3 separate regions of the Homo sapiens genome follow, and regions 1 and 2 are each linked to region 3. The links are contacts of gene promoters, found by promoter capture Hi-C in blood cells and fetal thymus (Javierre and others, 2016). All regions are on one chromosome and are shown on one strand. The core of a region is centred on a gene start or on the middle of the fragment in contact, and the rest is flanking DNA. Distances in the headings are between cores, read along the strand shown. Region 1 overlaps LOC101927066 (a long non-coding RNA gene). Region 2 has its middle 88 kb from the start of MTDH. Region 3 holds the start of CPQ (carboxypeptidase Q).

Region 1 (2,838 bases), core at 133-2,632, 610 kb after region 3:
GAGCTCTTTATTCTCTTAAGGAGTAAGGCTCCCTCTTACGGAGTTTCTATCAAGTTTCCTAACCATTAGGCCACAAGATTACTCTTGTGGCTTCTCCATGTGCCATTTTACCCCCTGCCATAGAACATGTGTCTCAAAAGGGACACCAGGACCTAACTCTCCCCTACACTGGGATGAATTCCTGACCCCCACAGGACAGCCTTCACCTCCTTACCTTGCATCATAAGTCAAGCCCAGCATCTCGTGGTCTGACTCCAAATACCAATGCACTTATTCTCCAAAGAGTCTGGAATCTTACAAATCTGTCTTGGCATCCCAGAGTGACCCCATACTCACCTTCTGATAACACTTTACACCCTCCAAAGAATCTTTATGCAAGATAAAAGATGTTTGACTCAGAAAGATGTTCTCTCCTAAGGATATTTTGACTCCTAAGAATAATACCATTAAAACCAAAATTATGTCATAATGAATACATTTTTGTACTGAAAGGATTTTCTGGAAAAAACTCCATTAAGTCCATTTGACTCCTTGATCAACCTTCTTAAAATAGCCTAGTTAAATCCTCTTTAATTTTTCCCATTTTCATTCATATTTTATTTCACAGAAGTTATTTGATTGGGATTAATTTTTTCCTGTGTCAGTTTTATATAAAGCTTTGATGCATTACTCAATTGGTTTATTTATATCAAATATTATGGTTGTAACTTTTGCCCTTGAAAACTTACTATATAGACATTGTTCTACAAAGTTCAATATTCCCAAGTCAGACTGCACAGATTAGATTTTAACTACTAAAGGCTTTAAATTCTGTTGATCATTTCTACCAGTGATATTCACTATATAAAAAAGCTGAGAATGGTGTCTCTTTCACAGCAAAGCTACACACTCATGTCCTTAGTTAGATCTTCCAGAGTAGGCCTTTCATTTATGGCTGGATTGTAGTACAGCGAGTGAATAAGGCATGAGCTCTGGAATTGAACTGTCTGGGTTAACTTGGGCAAATATTTAATTTCTCAGTTTTCCCATTTGTGAACTGGGGTCAATATTAGTACCTAAACCACAGGGTTCTTGTGAGGATTAAAGCAGAATTCACACAAAGTGCTTCACATAGTACATTGCATGCAGTGTAAGATGTGATAGCTCTTGTTATTACTCCAACCACCTTAAAAATTCTCTGTTATCTATTACTACAGTTAACAAACCAGCCCAAAACCTGATGGCTTAAAATAACAGCAATTTATCACTCAATAATATTTAATTGTATGGGTACAACACATTTTGCTTATCTGTTCATCAGTTAATGGACATTTAGATTGTTTTCACCTTTTGGCTATAGTGAATAGTGCTTCTATGAACATTGCATACATGTATTTGAGTGCAAAAAGAAATGAAGTAGCGATATATGCTACAACATGGATGAACACTGAAGACATTATGCTAAGTGAAGGAAGCCAGTCACAAAAGTGTCTCCATAGAGACAGGAAGCAGATGGGTGGTTGCCAGGAGTTAGAGGGGGCAGGGAATGAGAAGTGACTGCTTACTGGATACAGGGTTTGCTTTTGGAGTGATGAAAACGTTTTAGAACTAGAAAGAGGTGGTGGTTGCACAACATTATAAAGATACTAAATGCCATGAATTGCATACCTTAAAATAGTGAATTTTCTGTTATGGTGTATTTCACCTCAATTTTAAAAATCATCATAACAGCAATTTATTATTTCTCGTGACTCTGTAGGACAGCTGGGAGGCTCTGCTGGCTTCACCTAGGCTCCATTCAGCAGGAGAATTGGCTGGGAGGGCAGGTCCTCTCTTTCACCTGGTCTCTCATCCTCAAGAAGGCCAGTTGGAGCTTCAAGCAAATCCCTGTGAGCAAGCACTTACCAAGTCTCTGCTTGGGTTATGTTAGCTGATGTCACATGGACCAAAACAGGACACATGGCTAGGCCCAGAGTCAGTGTGGAAGAACACTACACAAGGGCATGGTATCAGAAAGTATGATTCATTGGGGGCCATTATTGTGATAATCTCTACAAGCATCATTCTAATCATCTACCCCAACCTGACTTGGTCTGAAATGACTCCTACATCCTGACTAACATGGAATAGAAAGCTTGGGCTGCATGGCTTTAGAAGAGTAAGATGCAAGTCTCAAATGTATTCAGAGTCCTCAGAATGAAAGGAAACTCAGCTTCTTTCAGCATTCCTTTTTTTCCAGAGTTCCCCCCGTATTTAAGTTCAATGTTTTTGATCAGAGACCTCTTGTTATGATGAATTTAATCTGAAACAACTGAATGAAGGGCAGTGGTGATGCAACACAATGATCATCTTCACAGTGTCCAATTGTAAGTGCTCCGGAGTCACCACCCTGACATTCCTGGGGAGTTAGTCCTATCAGAAAGGGCTGGTGGCAGCTCTATTGGGAGGGGCTCCCACAGCCAGAGCTGCCTGGTAGACAGAGTACCCACAGTGCCCTTAAAGACAACTGTTGTTTATGGAAGACACCTGCACCCACTACCTTACTTTAACCCTGCAAGCTGGTACTATCATGATCCCCATTTTGCAGATGAAGAAAGTGGTAGGACAGGAGATGCACTGCCCAAATGCCCTTTCTGGAGGGAAGGACTTGCCTCCAGCTGTCAGCTCCTTCAGAGTGTGCTTGCCATAGACAGCTGCTTTGCCCAAGGGCATCTCTTTCCTTTCCGGGTAGCCCAAATGCAACAGCTAACAGTGGCAGGGGTACAAAGACCCATGACAGGACACCTCTGAGGGCTGCGTATGCTCCACAGCTCCCAATAGGGTTTGCTGATCAACTTCTCCCTCTGTCCCATTCTACCC
Region 2 (2,708 bases), core at 150-2,649, 910 kb after region 3:
CGAGGTGGGCAGATCACCTGAGGTCAGGAGCTCGAGACCAGCCTGGTCAACATGGTGAAACCCAGTCTCTACTAATAATACAAAAATTAGCCGGGCATGGTGGCACATGCCTGTAATCCCAGCTACTAGGGAGGCTGAGGCAAGAGAATCGCTTGAACCCAGGAGGCAGAGGTTGCAGTGAGCCAAGATGGCGCCATTGCACTCCAGCCTGGGCGACAAGAGTGAAACTCCGTCTCTAAAAAAAAAAAAAGAAGTTAAAGACCCTGTTTCCCTGTGCCACATCCTGGAGCCTCCTGGCCTTGGTTTCATCAACTGCAAATATAAATATATATCATTACTTTTATTTTGAAAGACTGTTGTGTGTTTAGTTAACAAACACTTACTAAGCCCCTACTATGTGTAAGGCAGTGTACTGATGACTCCATGAGGAACAGTTTCAAGTCTGAAAATGAGATTACTACACAGAGCATGATGCACTATACAGACGTGCTTCTATAGGAAAATTAATAATGAATCATTGGGAGATAGTACTTTAAGAAAGACAACATTGACCAGGTGCAGTGGCTCACACCTGTAATCCCAGCACTTTGGGAGGCTGAGGTGAAAGGACCACTTGAGCCCAGGAGGTCAAGGTTGAAGTGAGCTATGAGTGCCACTGCACTCCAGCCTGGGTGACGGAACAAGACTCTGTCTTCAAAAAAAAAAAAGAAGAAAGAAAGACTGAATACAGGCCCAGAACCTCTTACTCACATTTCTGAAATCCAAAAAATTCTGAGAACCTATTTTTCTTTTAATGTATTTGGCATCAAAATTTATTTGGTGGCAAAGCCTGACCTGAGGTGAATGACACCACCAACAGTCGTCATTGGTCCTGCTGAGTGTGACTATTCATGTTTTTCTACACAAATATTAATGTGTTTGGTGAAAAGGTGCTTGCTCAGGCTGTGCTGGGGGTGTTACATAATATATAACATGTGCACTGTTTTGCCTTTCTGAAACCCAAAATAATCTGAATTCCAAAACGTATATGGCCCTGAGGGTTTTGGATAAGGTATTGTGGACCAGAATATGTAAATTCTCAGGGAATTGAGCAAAACTGGAGCTAACACCTTCACACTATAAGCATTCATTATTCCTCATTTGCATCTTGTACCGTGCCCAGCAAACTGTGAGCTTACGAGATAAATAGGGAAAGATGGGAGTGTGAGTTTGCATGTAGGGCATGTGGATTTTGTCCCTTCAATAGCACAGGTAGCCTCTGTCCAAAGAAACCAGTCACTGTTTACATCCATCTCCCAGAAAGGAAAGAAGAGAAACTTAATCAGAGATGTGGCCCAGTCCCTCTCTGTAGCCCCAGGTACTGGAAGCAGCCCTCCTGCTGGAAATGACACTTCTCTCCAGTTCCAGCGAGCAGGAACCCACTTCAACTCACCCGGTTTGCACGTTCTGTTCTCCAACTTTCTTCATGCCCATTCAGCCCAGCAGGCTCAGACGGAGAGGAACGGCTCCTGCATCCTTGGGTCTAGTCTCCGCCAAGTTGGCGGTGGAGGCAGAGGAAGGCGTGGTGCTCTTACCCTGTTGTTTAATGTGCAGAAGATTTTATGGGAGCCATGGATTAATCGGCTCAAAAAATACGAAGAGATATTTATGGTAAGTTCAAGTTTCACAACCACTCAAGAGGTTTTTCACTTCAAAGGATTTTAGTTCAAACCAGAGCTCGATGTCTCATTACCACAAACTTCGATCTTTTGGCCTTCAAAGGTCTTGTCTCCTTGACTCAATTCTTCACTTCAATTTATTTGTTTGAAAATATATACTGAACCTGTATCACGTGCCAAGTGCTGTGCTGGGTGATGGAAATATACACACAAATAAGACATGGCCCCTGCCTGGGAAAAGTCATGGTCCAATAAGGGAGACACTGTTGGACAACAGGCTGTCTCCAATCACTTTATGAGCAAAAGCTACTTTTCTTTTACCTAAGTTTGTGGCTGAAAGCAGAGGTCAGGGCAGGACGTGATGGCTCACGCCTGTAATCCCAGCATTTTGGAAGGCTGAGGCAGGTGGATTACTTGAGTCCAGGAGTTGAAGACTGGCCTGGCCAACATGGTGAAACCCCCTCTCTACTAAAAATTCAAAACAAATTAGCCAGGTGTGGTGGCTCGTGCCTGTAATCCCAGCTACATGAGGCTGAGGCAGGAGAATCGCTTGAACCCGAGAGGTGGAGGTTGCAGTGAATGGAGATCATGCCACTGAGAGGTGACAACATGCTAGCAGCCCTCGCTCGCTCTGGGCGCCTCCTTGGCCTCGGCGTCCACTCTGGCCGCGCTTGAGGAGCCCTTCAGCCCGCCGCTGCACTGTAGGAGCCCCTCTCTGGGCAGGCTGAGGCCGGAGCCAGCTCCCTCTGCTTGCAGGCCGGTGTAGAGGGAGAGGAGTGGGCGGGAACCGGAGCTGCGCAGGGCGCTAGCGGGCCAGCGCGAGTTCCGGGTGGGCGCGGGATCCGCAGGCCCCACACTCACAGCGGCCCGCCAGCGCTGCTGGCCGCGGGCAGTAAGGGGCTTAGCACCCGGGCCAGCAGCTGCAGAGGGTGCGCCAGGTCCCCCAGTACTGCCCGCCCGCCCGCGCCGCGCTTGAATTCTCGCCGGGCCTCAGCCGCCTCCGCAGGGCAGGGCTCGGCACCTGCAGCCGGACATGCGCGAGCCACCCCT
Region 3 (2,778 bases), core at 246-2,745:
AAGCTTTTATTGTTATTACGAGTTGAAACTTGAGTGGGAAAGAACTTCGTTCACATTAAACATGAGAAAAGGCCCAGAAGTTGAAAAGCATTTGACATAATTAAAGAACAGCAAGTCAGTGCCACTTAAACGGTAATCCAACCACCGCCAGTCAGTGAACAGCTTTTTACTGCTCCATGAACAGGTAAGTATAGAAATTGTGAGTAAGCATTTAGAAATAAAAACAACAACAACAACCAATAATTGAAAAACTAATTTTATACTTTTTGGCATACTCATTGTACACTTGTAATAAAAACTGGGCTTGTAGTTTTTGTCTCTTTTCTTATTTGCTAGCAGGTTTTGATTTGTATTTTACAGAAATAATGGTCCATGTCAGATTGGAAATAATAAAAACTTGTCTTTTACCCTTGATAGTTTGAGAAAAAAGTAATTCAGTGGGGTTAGATATGGCATCCGAGAGATGATTCGGGAAAGGTGGGCCAGGGCCATGTTTATGTGGACCCTCCAATGCCTCAGAGTTCACACTTGTTTCAGTGGGCAACAGGACTAGTAAGGTTTAGAGGGACTGTTAACCGAAGGTGAGTGGACTTTGCACATTTTATGGTATTTTTTTTTTCCCAGTAGGCATGTGCTTATTCTTTCTTTTCTTTTCTAATTAAAAGTTCTGTTTGGTTTTTTTAGTTAAGAGGAGAGACTGGAACTGCTCAGTGTTTCACAAAGATAACTGTTTGTATTTGATAAGAGTTTCGTTAAACAAAGGAATTTGCACTTATCAAAACATAAAGCATTGAAAACACTGAGCACATACTCTGTGACCAGAATGCGTGTGACTTGTTGAGATAAGCCACACCGGGTAATCAGATGAGTCTCCTTTCTTCTTGGGCACCCTCATATAATTCAGGCACAAACGAAAGAGAAAACGCTTTTTCTGATCTCTCAGTTCGGGTCATCTCTGCCTTCCATCATCACCGCCTAACAATCCTACACCTGGCAGGGTGGGAAAACGGTTTAATAATCTCTTCCCTTTGGGAGGCGTTTGACAGCTCAGAAAGCATGGCCTTTACTCAGGCTCAGAGACACACAAAAACCTTTCACGTTTTCCTTTCAGCTTCGCAGCCCCGTCCTTCTCCACCTGCACGGGCACCCACTGAAGCACAGGACCCTTCTGCCAAGCCATGAGCCTTCTCAGGCCCCTGCCGCCCGCCTCGCCTGAGGCTGCGCTTCTGAAAAGCACGCGGCCCTGGCCTGCGCACCACCCAGTCTGAAGGCGACGCCCCTGCACGAAGGAGTCAGGCCTAGGGGCTCGGGACCCAGGGCGACACTCAATTTTCTAACAGGAGCCACAGCCCAGAAGCTGAGAAGCCTTCCGGCCGATCTGTGGCCCTGAGGTCGCCCTTGGAGGGCGAGTGAGAACCCCCCAGGCGTTCCGGAGGTGGCCCCCAGCCCGAACCCGGCGCCCGCCCCGGCTTCCCGAGTCAGGTCTTTGCCCCGCCTCTCGGCCCCGCGGCCTGGCCGGCAAGCAGGGCTGCAGTCACGGGGCGGCGCGGAGGGCCCCAGCCCAGTCAGGGGTGTGGCCGCCGCCACCGTAAGGCTAGGCCGCGAGCTTAGTCCTGGGAGCCGCCTCCGTCGCCGCCGTCAGAGCCGCCCTATCAGGTGTGTTTGCAGCCGAACTGGCAGTGCCCGCGGGCGGCTGGGCCGAGGCCTTGGCTCCTACCCGCGGGGGTCGGGCGGGCTGAGGCTGGAGCAGGCCAGGGGCGGGGGCAGAGGGGGACGGACTTCCAGCATCGCTCATTCGGGGGCGTGACGGGAGGACCTGGCTGGGGAGCGGCGGGTTGGGAGCCTGTGGCTGCCCCTTCGGTGACAGTGGAGTCACCGAGCCTAGAAATGGGGAAGCTGTGACGTGGGGGTGGTGGAGGGTGCTGCGGGACAGCAGCGAGCACGGCCCTCAGCCGTCCTTCCCAACACGGTTTCACTTCCCCTCAGCTCCAGGGCTCAGCCCCAAGCCGCCCCCTTCATCCCCCATCTGCAAACAATCCTGGTCCCCCTGAGCCTCCAATATGCCTTATGCAGTTCTTTTGGGGTTCCTTTCGCATTTTACCGTGTACTTTCGCTTTTGATGCGTCTAGTTTCTGCTACTGGACTCTCCTAGAATCGAAGTTCCATGAGGGCAAAGTCCCATCTGACTTAGGACTCAGAGCTACTCAATAAGTAATTGAATGAGTACCTATGCCGTAGAACTGAGTGAATTAACAAATGAGTAAGTGAATAAATGAGTGCATACGAGATACAGCTGAATCAATCAGTGCATGAGTGAAAATAAAGATGTATGAAGTGGAAGCAGTGGAGACGCAGGCTTACAACTCCTGTTTTTTGATAGCTTTCCAAAAAGTTGTGTGAATGTCGCACTTTTGCAAATGGAGGCATTCTGATTGGGACCACTTAAAAAGAGTTCTATGCTGTTCAAATGGTCTCTGGAAACGCCCCCTGGTATTTCCATTTTTGTTGGACTTGGCTATATGTGTTTGCTTAAAACAAAATATGCCTAGGTTTTTTCTTGCTTGTGTTTTGTTCACTTCTACTTTGGACGTTTAAAGAATCATTGTCACTATAATATTATTTCATGTATTTCTTAAAGATAAGGGTGACTCTGAAGGCAGAACCATATGACTCTGACTTGTTTGTAAAACCAGGCTTTTCTTTTGAATTCAGAGTTGTTAAGAATCTTGTCTGTTTTCCTGAGACAGGTGCTGGCTGATTTGCAGGTGACTGAAGAAG

The links. Contacts are between HindIII fragments. The CHiCAGO score rates a contact against its expected background, and 5 or more counts as called.
Region 1: a contact is called between a fragment that was not itself captured here and the fragment with the promoter of CPQ in region 3, in 1 of 17 cell types (M2 macrophages). The highest score is 5.1, in M2 macrophages.
Region 2: a contact is called between a fragment that was not itself captured here and the fragment with the promoter of CPQ in region 3, in 3 of 17 cell types (M2 macrophages, M1 macrophages and M0 macrophages). The highest score is 10.1, in M2 macrophages.

What each region holds. Positions count from the first base shown.
Region 1 is chr8:97,255,180-97,258,017 of GRCh38, forward strand. The region is part of intron 2 of LOC101927066 (a long non-coding RNA gene); the gene reads right to left. Among named protein-coding and RNA genes, the nearest start is that of TSPYL5, 21 kb to the right of the region's middle. The HindIII fragment of the contact is 1,457 bases long and covers 655-2,111 here.
Region 2 is chr8:97,554,489-97,557,196 of GRCh38, forward strand. No RefSeq gene overlaps it. Among named protein-coding and RNA genes, the nearest start is that of MTDH, 88 kb to the right of the region's middle. The HindIII fragment of the contact is 6,759 bases long and covers 1-2,708 here.
Region 3 is chr8:96,643,747-96,646,524 of GRCh38, forward strand. It overlaps CPQ (carboxypeptidase Q), which reads left to right and starts at 1,496. Exons shown (of 8, transcript NM_016134.4): 1 at 1,496-1,656. RefSeq lists a silencer at 1,371-1,920. The HindIII fragment of the contact is 6,363 bases long and covers 2-2,778 here.